Regions from separate parts of the Homo sapiens genome. Here all the other regions are linked to region 2. The links are contacts of gene promoters, found by promoter capture Hi-C in human tissues and cell types (Jung and others, 2019). All regions are on one chromosome and are shown on one strand. The core of a region is centred on a gene start or on the middle of the fragment in contact, and the rest is flanking DNA. Distances in the headings are between cores, read along the strand shown. Region 1 overlaps CNNM2 (cyclin and CBS domain divalent metal cation transport mediator 2). Region 2 holds the start of WBP1L (WW domain binding protein 1 like). Region 3 overlaps NT5C2 (5'-nucleotidase, cytosolic II).

The links. Contacts are between HindIII fragments. The study calls those that stand out against the background at their distance.
Region 1: a contact is called between a fragment that was not itself captured here and the fragment with the promoter of WBP1L in region 2, in 2 of the 25 tissues and cell types used here (bladder and spleen).
Region 3: a contact is called between a fragment that was not itself captured here and the fragment with the promoter of WBP1L in region 2, in 1 of the 25 tissues and cell types used here (aorta).

Annotation. Positions count from the first base shown.
Region 1 is chr10:103,046,421-103,049,966 of GRCh38, reverse strand. It overlaps CNNM2 (cyclin and CBS domain divalent metal cation transport mediator 2), which reads right to left. Exons shown (of 8, transcript NM_017649.5): 2 at 117-260. Among named protein-coding and RNA genes, the nearest start is that of CNNM2, 130 kb to the right of the region's middle. The HindIII fragment of the contact is 8,929 bases long and covers 1-3,546 here.
Region 2 is chr10:102,742,368-102,745,987 of GRCh38, reverse strand. WBP1L (WW domain binding protein 1 like) reads right to left here and starts at 2,040. Exons shown (of 4, transcript NM_001083913.2): 1 at 1,845-2,040. The coding sequence starts at 1,934. SFXN2 (sideroflexin 2) reads right to left here. Exons shown (of 12, transcript NM_178858.6): 12 at 2,496-3,620. RefSeq lists enhancers at 1,174-1,403, 2,344-2,393 and a silencer at 1,904-2,063. The HindIII fragment of the contact is 7,220 bases long and covers 1-3,620 here.
Region 3 is chr10:103,105,944-103,109,441 of GRCh38, reverse strand. NT5C2 (5'-nucleotidase, cytosolic II) reads left to right here. Exons shown (of 19, transcript NM_001351169.2): 5 at 2,736-2,853. Among named protein-coding and RNA genes, the nearest start is that of NT5C2, 86 kb to the left of the region's middle. The HindIII fragment of the contact is 5,100 bases long and covers 1-3,498 here.

The sequences.
Region 1 (3,546 bases), core at 866-3,365, 300 kb before region 2:
CACATCATGTGTCATTATAAACAGAGGCAGCAACTGGAGAAACGTCAGAAGACTCACAAACAGCACAACAAAAAAAGCAAAGGTTTCGGGAAATACACTCAGACAATGCTACTTACTGTATAAATCTGTTTCATCAAGAATCTCAGATTTGATGATTTCTTCAATCACATCTTCTAAGGTGACGATTCCCAGAACTTCATAAAATGGATCCCCTTCTCCCTCATTGTTTACCCGCTGCACGATAGCCAGGTGAGATTTACCTTTAGAGACAAGAAAAAGTTTAGGAAGTGACTTTCTGAATTTTCTGAATGACATGTTATATGTGATATGGTAAAAACACCAGCAAACACAGATGTCGAATTATCAAAATCTCTGTTTCAGCATTTTAAAATGGTACTGAGACATCACAAACAAATGGAAGAACTTCAAGAGCCATTAAAAGGCAGAAAGTTACGCCAGAAGAGCGTCACCCTCCACATACATTGCACTGCACCATTGTTCTCTGCTTCCTAATGGTAATGTCTCTTGTTGCGTAACCTTTCGGCAACTGCCACCTAAAGAGAGTGGTTCTCAAAGTGTGGTCCATGGTGCCCTAGGGATTCCCAAGACCCTTATAGGAGGTCCATGAGGCCCAACTATTTTCATAAGAATACTAAGATGCTATTGGCTGTTTTCACTGTGTTGAAATTTGAACTGATGGTGAAAAGGCACCTTAGCACAGATGAACGTAGTGGGAGCAAGCTGCACTTAGTGAACACTGTTCTCTGTCACAACACACATGCAGTAAAGGGAAGGAAGTAGCTTCTCTTAAGAATGTACTTGGCTGGGAGCGATGGCTCACTCTTGTAATCCAAGAGCTTTGGGAGGCCCGGGCGGGAAGACCACTTGAGCCCAGGGGTTCACAATCAGCCTAGGCAACACAGTGAGATCCTGTCTCTACAAAAAAATAAACAGAAAAAGTAGCTGGACATGCAGGCCTACAGTCCCAGCTTCCTGGGAGGCTGAGGTGGGAGGATCCAGGAGTTCGAGGCTGCAGTGAGCTATGATCGAGCCACTGCACTCCAGCCTAGGCGACAGAGTAAGACACTGTCTTAAAAAAAAGTCCTTGCTGAAGCAGTAAACATTAATTTCATTAAATCCTGACCTGAGTACATGTCTTTTGGTAATCTGTATGACAACATGGGAATTGTCATAAAACACTTCTGTTGAATTCTGAAGTATGGCAGCCGTCCTGAGGAAAGACTCTTGTGATTGACTTGCAAGTTGGACTGGCCACTTTCATTGTTGAATGTTTTTACTTCAAACACGACTACTAGACAAACTATGGTTATATAGACTTGGGTATTTGTCAGGCATTTTCTCAAAAATGAACCTGTCACATCAAGGAAAACAATAGGCAGTGTGGACTGCCAATGATAAAATTTGAGCTTTCAACAGACAGTTAAAATTTTAGCTGGGTGCGGTGGCTCACGCCTGTAATCCCAGCGTTTTGGGAGGCTGAGGCAGGTAGATCACCTGAGGTCAGGAGTTTGAGACCAGCCTGGCCAACATGGCAAAACCCCATCTCTACTAAAAATACAAAAACTAGCTGGATGTGGTGGTGTGTGCCTGTGATTCCAGCTACTCAGGAGGCTGAGGTGGGAGAATCACTTGAATCTGGGAGGCGGAGGTTGCAGTGAGCCGAGATTGTGCCACTGCACTCCAGGCCTGGGCAACAGAGTGAGACTCCCACTCAAAAAAAAAAAAAAAAAATGCTGAGCGCAGTGGCTCACATTTGTAATCCCAGCCCTTTGGGAGGCGGATCACTTGAAGTCAGGAGTTCAAGACCAACCTGGCCAACATGGTGAAACCCTGTCTCTACTAAAAATACAAAATAAATTAGCCAGGTGTGGTGGTGCACGCCTGTAATCCCAGCTACTCAGGAGGCTGAGGCAGGAGAATGGCTTGAACCCAGGAGGTGGAGGTTGCAGTGAGCCAAGATCGTGCCATTACACTCCAGCCTGGGCAACAAGTGAGACTCTGTCTCAACAAAAAAGAAAAAAAAGAAAAGAAAATTAAAATTTTGGGAGACTTGTAGCCACGAGCGTAACAGCTTCTCAACAATTAAAGACTTTTCTGATGAGATTGCTGGTGATATTAACAAACGATTGTTAAAAATATTGAATATTGCAATCTGTCAACATTTTGAAGATCTGTATAACTCAGTGAACCAATATTTTCCAAGTGACTATGGCAATGTTACAAAATCATGCACGAGTACACAATCCATTTGGAGTATAAGACAGAACAACAGATTTTTAAAAATTCTTACTTTGGAATAATTTTAGATTTACAGAAAAGTTGCAAAGAGAGTACAGAGAGTTCCTATAAACCCTTCACCCGGTTTCCCCCATTGTTAACATCTTACACTACCATGATATATTTGTCAAAACTAAAAAATTGGCATTGGTACATTACTATTAAGTAAACTCCAGACTTTATTTGGATTTCGCTGATTATTTCTACAACATCCTCTTTGTTTTGTTGTCTGGTTCAGGGCACCACACCACATTTAGTTGTCATGTCTCTTTAGTCTCCTCTGGTCTGTGACAGTTTTTCGGTCTTTGCTTTTTATGACATTGACAATATTGAAGGGTACTGGTCAGGCCTCCTGCAGAATGTCCCCCGATTTGAGCTTGTCTGATGTTTCACCCATGAGTATACTGGGTTATAGGTTTTCTAGTTACATCAGTGGTTATATGACATCACTGCTGACATTCACCTTTTTCATCACTTGGTTAAGGCTGTGTTTCCCAGGTTTCTCCATTGGAAAGTTACTCATTTTTCCCTTTCCTTAATTCTATTATTTGAAAACAAATCACTAAGTCTAGCCCACCCATACAAGGGTGGGAGTTAAGCTCTACTTCCTGGAATATGGGAGTATCTACATGTATTATTTAGAAGGGGGAGTACCTGCATATATTATTCAGTATTCTTCTGTAAAGAAGATTTCGGACCAAACAAAGTTAATGTAAGAGTCCAAAGGTCTACTGGTATGGTTTCAGATTCTACATTACAACTAACCTTTAATAAATTACTATGTATGGAGTTTTGATGTAATATCAAAGGAGAATACCCATCACTGTCCAAAAAAGCTGATACTCCTCCCTTTTCCAAATACATACCTGTGTGAGGCCAGATTCTCCTGATATACTTCAACTAACACAGTATACTGCACAGACTGAATGCACAAGACTGAACCCAGCTGCCTTCCTTTTAGCTTGATTAGACATGCAAAAAGTAAAACAATGGCACTCTTCTACTGTTTGTTTTAGAAAATATTTTTATTAATAACACTATATTAGCAAGCAATGGATTATTGTCCTTTAAATCAACCAATGTTTTGAAGGTCTCTGTTTTAATTCAAATACAGTAAATATCAAAAGATAGAACCCACATAAATAAAAGGATCCTCAATCATTTTTAAGAGTTTCAAGGGGTCCTGAGACCAAAAAAAGTTTAACCCATTTATGTCACAGGTTGCAAGTTTTTGTGAAAAATCAGACC
Region 2 (3,620 bases), core at 791-3,290:
ATGTGCAAAGGAAAAGTAAATTCTGTATTTACTATATTCTATATTTTGTTGTCAATACCTATACTTAACTTTACTGGTCCTGAGGGCTATAACATTTCTAGTAAACAAAAAAAATATATTTCTTCTGCCAGTTTATGATTTCCACTGGAAAAACAACCCCAACAAAGGCTAAAACAGAAGGGTCCCAACCCTCGAAAAGGGAATACACTGGGCTAGAAAATGAGCTACATTCCTTTCACATGGTATTTCTAGTATACACAAACATATCCTGAGGAAAAATTAGACACTTCAATGCATAAATAAATTGTGGTTTACAGATAACAGAATGTTACTTGGTCATGAACAGGAATGAAGTACTAGTACATGCTACGATGTGGATGGGCCTTATAAACATTACGCTAAGTGAAAGGAGCCAGGCACAAAGACCACATATTGTAGGATCCCGTTTATATAAAATATCCAGAATAGATAAATCCATAGAGACTGAAAGCAGACGGGTGGTTGCCAGGGGCTGGGGGAAAAGGGAGACAGAGAGTAACTGCTTAGTAGGGACGAGGTTTTCTATTGGGGTGATGAAAATGTTTTGGAACTAGATAGAGGTGGTAGTTGCACAACATTGTAAGTGTACTAAATGCCACTGAATTGTTCACTTTAAAATGGTTTTTGTCATGTGAATTTCAACTTATTTTTTAATCAGTATTTTAAAATAGAGGATAATGGGCAAAACAAGATGTATTTGTGAAAAGGCAGCCCTAAAACTCCTAGGGAAAAGATAAGTATTTTTGCTGGCACTCAGTTTCTGCTCTTGTTCACAACACAAGTTCAAGCGCTAAGTTGTATAAACTTTGCCACTACGCTATGCGTCTATGTGTGTATGCCTTTCTGAAAAAACGGGGAAAAGAACAGAAAGTGAAGAAAAAAGAATCATAAAGCTTTGCCACATGCAAGGAAGGAGGGGTGATTGCCCCCACTGCACCCCACCCAACTTGGCACCAGGAGTAACGCTCCCATTAGGGTTTTGAAATGCCAGCTGGAGCTGGAATCAGCACAAGCAAGCTTCTCTGCCTGGATAAAGAGCAAGCCACCCAGCAAGAAAAGCTAGGGTGCTCCATTTGCTGCCCATATTGGCATCAGAACCACCCTCTGGTCAAAAGCCCTGAGCTGGCTCAGATCAGCATCCGTGACTTGCTCTCCCAGGCCAGCCAGCCTAACAGCAAGAGCTTGTTACAGCTCAAGTGTGCTCCTCCTCCTGAGGGGTTCCACTCTGTTTCATCCCACCTGCCTTCTGAGAGTCCTCCCTCCAACCAAGTGCGCCATGGCTTACAGATTTTAAAATGGGGCCAAGTCTCTCCCAGGAACATAGTAATTTTTTTTAAACGTACTAAGATGCCCTCGGAACTTTCCCCAGTCCATCCTTAAAGAAATATCCTCAGGATCCCCTCCCTCACAGGCCAACTCAATAGCCTGTGTACCCCTACACACACAGACGTACATACTGCATTACTGCCTGGGACACCTGCTCCACAGAGGGACACGAATAAGGCCCACATCCTCAGCTTGGCACCGCTATCCAGCCACAGTCACCCCAGCCCACCTAACCAACCTGCCGTCTCAAACGCCCCTCACTCGCTTGGCATCATGCCTCTGCCACCTCCTTGACACCAAAACTGTCACAGGTGTCCCTCAGCTAAATACCGACGCCCCTTTAGATCCTGTCCACGCCAGGCATAGACGCCCCTCTCGGGACCCCTCAACTCTTGGCAACAACACTCCTTCAGACCCCTCCAGCCAGGCCTCGACGACCCCCAGGACCCAACATGGCCCAGACGCCCCCTCCCCCTTACCTGCGGGGGTTCAGCCCTGGCTGACAAGGGGCTGGGCAGCGCCTGGAGGAGCAGGAGCGCCATGCCACCCAGGAGCCTTCTCCTCTCCATCCCCCTCCTGCTCCTGCTCCTCCGCCACGGCGCCGCCACCTCCCTCCTCCTCCTCCCTCTCCTCCTCTACCCTCTTCTTCCTTCTTCCCTTCTTTTCCTGTTTGACGCTCCCCTCCCGCTTCCGGCTCTGCTCCACCCCGCCCCGCGCAAAACACCCTCCCAGACACGCGAGAGACTCTCCAGTTCCAGCGCTTCATTGGCCTTTGCCCTTTGTCCATTGATCAATGTAGCTGTCGATCAAATATAAGTCCCGCCTTCCCCTGAAGACGAAGCGATGCAGCCAATAAAAAGTAGGAGGAAGCCGGACCATCTTGAATGCTGCGAAGAAGTGTAAAATTCGTCCCAACCCGCAGAGAGTGGCGGAAGCAGCTTCATAAGGGGGCGGGGCCACCCAGGTGGATGGAAAAGTCTATTTCTGATGTAGCCATCTTGAGTGTGGCGGAAGTACTAGTTTTCCAGTTTTCCACATCAAAAAAAGAAAAAAGGTTTAATGTTTCTCAAGGGTGTTGGAAAATAAATTATTCCTGAAAGGTAACCAGGCGCTCCTGAAGAGGAAAACAATTGCAATGTAAAAATATTTTAATGTCTTTTGTCTTGAAGCACAGCACTATTACCAGGATGCCTCTCTTGGTCTCAACTGCCCAAATAGCAGCTTAGGTCCGTTTGAATTCCCTAGAAGATAGTACCTTTATCTGAGGCATAGTGCTTCGTCACCCCAAGTTCGACGGACAAAATTCTGGTTCTACTTCACAAATTGCTCTGAAATCCATCATCCATTGCTTCAATCCATGTTCTTCTAGCTAAATACAAATGGCTTCCCTGCTGCCCTGCAAGTTGACAATTCTTCCTCTCAAATTTCCGCCACACACTACAACCATACCACATTAAACCAAATATTACTATATCATGGCCTCTTCTTTTAAATACTTCATCTACCTACAGAATAGAGAGTCCAAACTTCCCAACACGGTCCTCTCTGTGACTTCGTCCCTGTCTACTTCTCTTTATCTCACCTCTCACCACTACATTTTCCCACACATTCCACTCACACTGACCATTGAAGAGATGCCCAGTAACTTCATTTACATATTACAGATACAGTTCCCTGCTTACAAACTCCTAGCCCCATCTCCTTGCTGCTTCTTCTGGATTCTTGTAACACTTATATCTGCGTGCCTGGTTTGCAGTTTTTTGTACAGCATACCAGGTCTTTCTTCTTCTTCTTTTAAAGCCTATAATATCCTGTACAAGGCTCAACCAGAGCTTGATCAATGTTGGTAAAATAGCCAGGTGTGGTGGCTCATGCTTATAATCCTAGCCCTTTGGGAGGCTGAGGCAGGTAGATCCCTTGAGCTCAGGAGTTTGAAACCAGCCTGGGCAACATGGAGAGAACCCTGTCTCTACAAAAATAAAAAAACTAAATTAGCCAAATTAGCCAAGCATGGTGGTGCACACTTGTAGTCCCAGCTACTTGGGAGGCTGAGGTGGGACAATCACCAGAGCTAGGGAGATTGAAGCTGCAATGAGCCTTGATTGTGCCACTGTACTCCAGCCTGGGCAACAGAGTGAGACCCTGTCTCAAAAAAAAAAAAAGGCCAGGTGCGGTGGCTCCTGCCTGTAATCCCAGCACTTTGGGAGGCCGAGGTGGGCGGATCACATGGTCAGGAGTTCGAGCCTGGCCAACAT
Region 3 (3,498 bases), core at 113-2,612, 360 kb before region 2:
ATTTACTTGCAACTGGGGTGGGAGCATGGGGCATTGAGGAGGGTAAGGTGAGAGTGGTTATACTTATAACAAATTTACAACAGTAGGTGCCATGCCTTATGGTTTTATGATACACCAGCTCTTACTCTATTAGTGTATATAGCACTTTATTTTTTTATCCACAGTGTACATCATATAGATTTAGGAATTCCACACTTAAGTCTTCAACAAGTTTTTTTTAGGGGGATGGGAGAGGATGAGGCAGGATTTAAGGGGAAGAAGGTAATATAGCCAGTTTTGAAAATGTTAGCCATGGCTGGGCATGGTGGCTCAGCCTGTAATAGCAGCACTTTGGGAGCCCGAGGCAGGCGGATCACTTGAGGTCAGGAGTTCGAGACCAGCCTGGCCAACATGGTGAAACCCCCGTCTCAACTAAAAATACCAGGTGTGGTGGCGGGCACCTGTAATCCCAGCTACTTGGGAGGCTGAGTCATGAGAATCGCTTGAATCTGGGAGGCAGAGGTTGCAGTGAGTCAAGATCACGGCCACTGCACTCCAGCCTGGGCAATGGAGCGAGACTCTGACTCAGAAAAAAAGAAAAAGAAAAAGAAAAAAAAAAGTTAGCCAGGGTTAGCATTGGCATTAAATTATTATTACCCTTGTGACAACAAAAGAAATAAAGATGGTTTTTTTCTTTTGGCATTGTTCTGATGAGACTCAAAAGACCTTAAAAGGCTTCTGGTTTTAAAATCTGACAAATATTTATTAAAGGATTTTGAAAGCCCAGCTTGCTTTTTAAAAACTTCAGTTTAATTTTAAAAATAGATATACATTAATGTAAGTTTTAAAGGTACAAGAAGTACATGACAGTTTCCTTCCCTGTCTCTTAAAGGCCACTCAGTTCCTTTCCTACGTGGCAACTAGTATTACTGTTATATATTTCCAGAAATATTCTAAAGGATTGTTTTTGGAAAGGGAAAGTTGAATCACACTCATTAAAGTATTAGCACCAACTTGGATAGGTAGACTAATTGCAATGAAAAATCAGTTTGCGCCAAAAGCTAAAGATGTTAATAGTAGATGGAAGAACTATAATAATAATAGTTGCATTATTATGAGATTACAAGAATAGGATGGATATTTTTGCCTCATTTGGCATTTAGCAAGCTAGCAGGTCTTTTTAGCTGTTATTTTTAATATGGCTTACTCACTCCTGGAGACTGATGGAAAGATGCTTACCTAAATATTTCATTTGGAAGAAACCTATTTAAAGGAGCAACATTTTCTTTTCTTTTCTTTTTTTTCTTTTTGAGACAGTCTCACTCTGTCGCCAAGGCTGGAGTGTAGTGGCACGGTCTCGGCTCACTGCAGCCTCCACCTCCTGGGTTCAAGCGATTCTCCTGCCTCACCCTCCCGAGTAGCTGGGATTACAGGTGCCCGCCACAACGTCCAACTAATTTTTGTGTTTTTAGTAGAGACGGGGTTTCACTGTGTTGGCCAGGCTGGTCTGGAACTCCTGACCTCAAGTGATCCGCCCGCCTTGGGCTCCCAAAGTGCTGGGATTACAGGCGTGAGCCACCGCACCTGGCCGCAACATTTTCTTTCTGCTTGAATTTCAGTAGTAAACTCTGAAAAGTTTTTTCATTATGGAAAATTTCAGACTTACACAATAGAGAGAGAACCCCTCATTGCCTGAAATCCCTGTTATTTGACCTGTAACAAACTCAATGCTCCTTTGGCAGATAAGGAGAGATTTAGTTTTATATACACATTTGCATATTTTTTTTTTTTAGACAGAGTCTCGCTCTGTCACCCAGGCTGGAGTGCAGTGGCATGATCTCAGTTCACTGCAACCTCTGCCTCTCAGGTTCAAGCGATTCTCCCACCTCAGCCTCCTAGCTGGGACAACAGGCATGCGCCACCACACCCGGCTAATTTTTTGTATTTTTAATAGAGACGGGGGTTTCACCATGTTGGTCAGGCTGGTCTCGAACTCTTCACCTCAAGTGATCTGCCCGCCTCGGCTTCTCAAAGTGCTGGAACTACAGGCATGAGCCACCACGCCTGACCAATTCTTCAATATCTAACTCCATTTCATATTTAGATTTCCCTAATTGTCACAAACATGTCTTTTTATGGTTGGTTTACAATAATAACCTGCAAAATACAATTTTGATGGCATACATTGTTAGAGCTGATAAGAAAACAGTTAATCTAACAAGTGGAACAAATATGTTGATTGGAGAAGGCATATAAAGCAATTACCCAAGCCAAACAGGAATTCCAAAAATAAATTATTTTAAAAGTTCATTTTGAAGGATTTCTGCAACAATTATGCACAACACCGAAGCCTTCAGCATACATAGACCTCCCTTACCTAGTTTTCTGTGTACTTTTATTCTCACGATTAATATCACAGCTATGCATATTCATTTTTTTAAACTGTGGGAATGAAAGAATAAAGGAAAAAAAAGTTTGGAATAGGTTTCCTGAGAATGAAGGAACTATACTGAATAATTTGATAATTCAGCTTGTTGCTGTGCTCCTGCTATATAATATGACCTATTTCCACAGACTAACAATTGAGTTCTCTAATTACTTGGGGCAATACAGAACATGGAGTTTGAGGGGGAAGAAGAAAAATGGCAGAATTAGGAGGGGGGAAGAACTGGGAAAGAGCAGAAATTCATTCATTTGCATTCTGTTTTAATTGGCTGTTCTTTCTGCTAACTAATGAAAACCTCCTCTTTGTGCAGTGTACAAGTCCCCAGAGTATGAGTCCCTTGGTTTTGAGCTTACTGTGGAGAGATTAGTTTCTATTGGCTATCCCCAGGAGTTGCTCAGCTTTGCTTATGATTCTACATTCCCTACCAGGTAATTTTTAAAGATATTTTTGGATTAAGACTAGATTAAGACTACTTTCCTTACCCCTCAAATTAGACATTCCAGATTTATCCTTAACAAAAAAACCCCCCAAAACATTGAATAATTCTTTGTTGTTTTTTTGGTTGGTTGATGTTGATTCTAAAATTACCATGAACTTTCCATATACACCATATCTTGGTGTTCCTGAATTAAGCTCAGTTTATTGCAACTGAGGAAGACCCACTTACAGGTAAAAAAGGAGATTACTAAAACTGATGGGCAGTAATCACAGGTGGTGCTATTTGGGGCTGTTGGCAAATAGGTACGTGTTTCTCTAATACACTTAACATGATAGAAGCTTGGCAGTTTCCATTTCTGGATTTGATAGGGAATATTTAAGATTAAGAAAATGATGTTTGAGATGCTATCATATATATCCCACATACAGCATCTAATGGAGAAAAATATAAGCCTTCTCAGTTGTCCAAGAAAAAAGACTATGTTTTAGAATGGTACCAGCTGTGTAGTAAGAAGAATGTTTTTTATACCTTGTTTGATTAAGCACTTATTCCTTACAGAAAACAATTATGATTTTCTGTCTGGACGGAGTCAATATTTTTTAGTTGCTTTAGAATTAGTTTTTAAGATTTTACT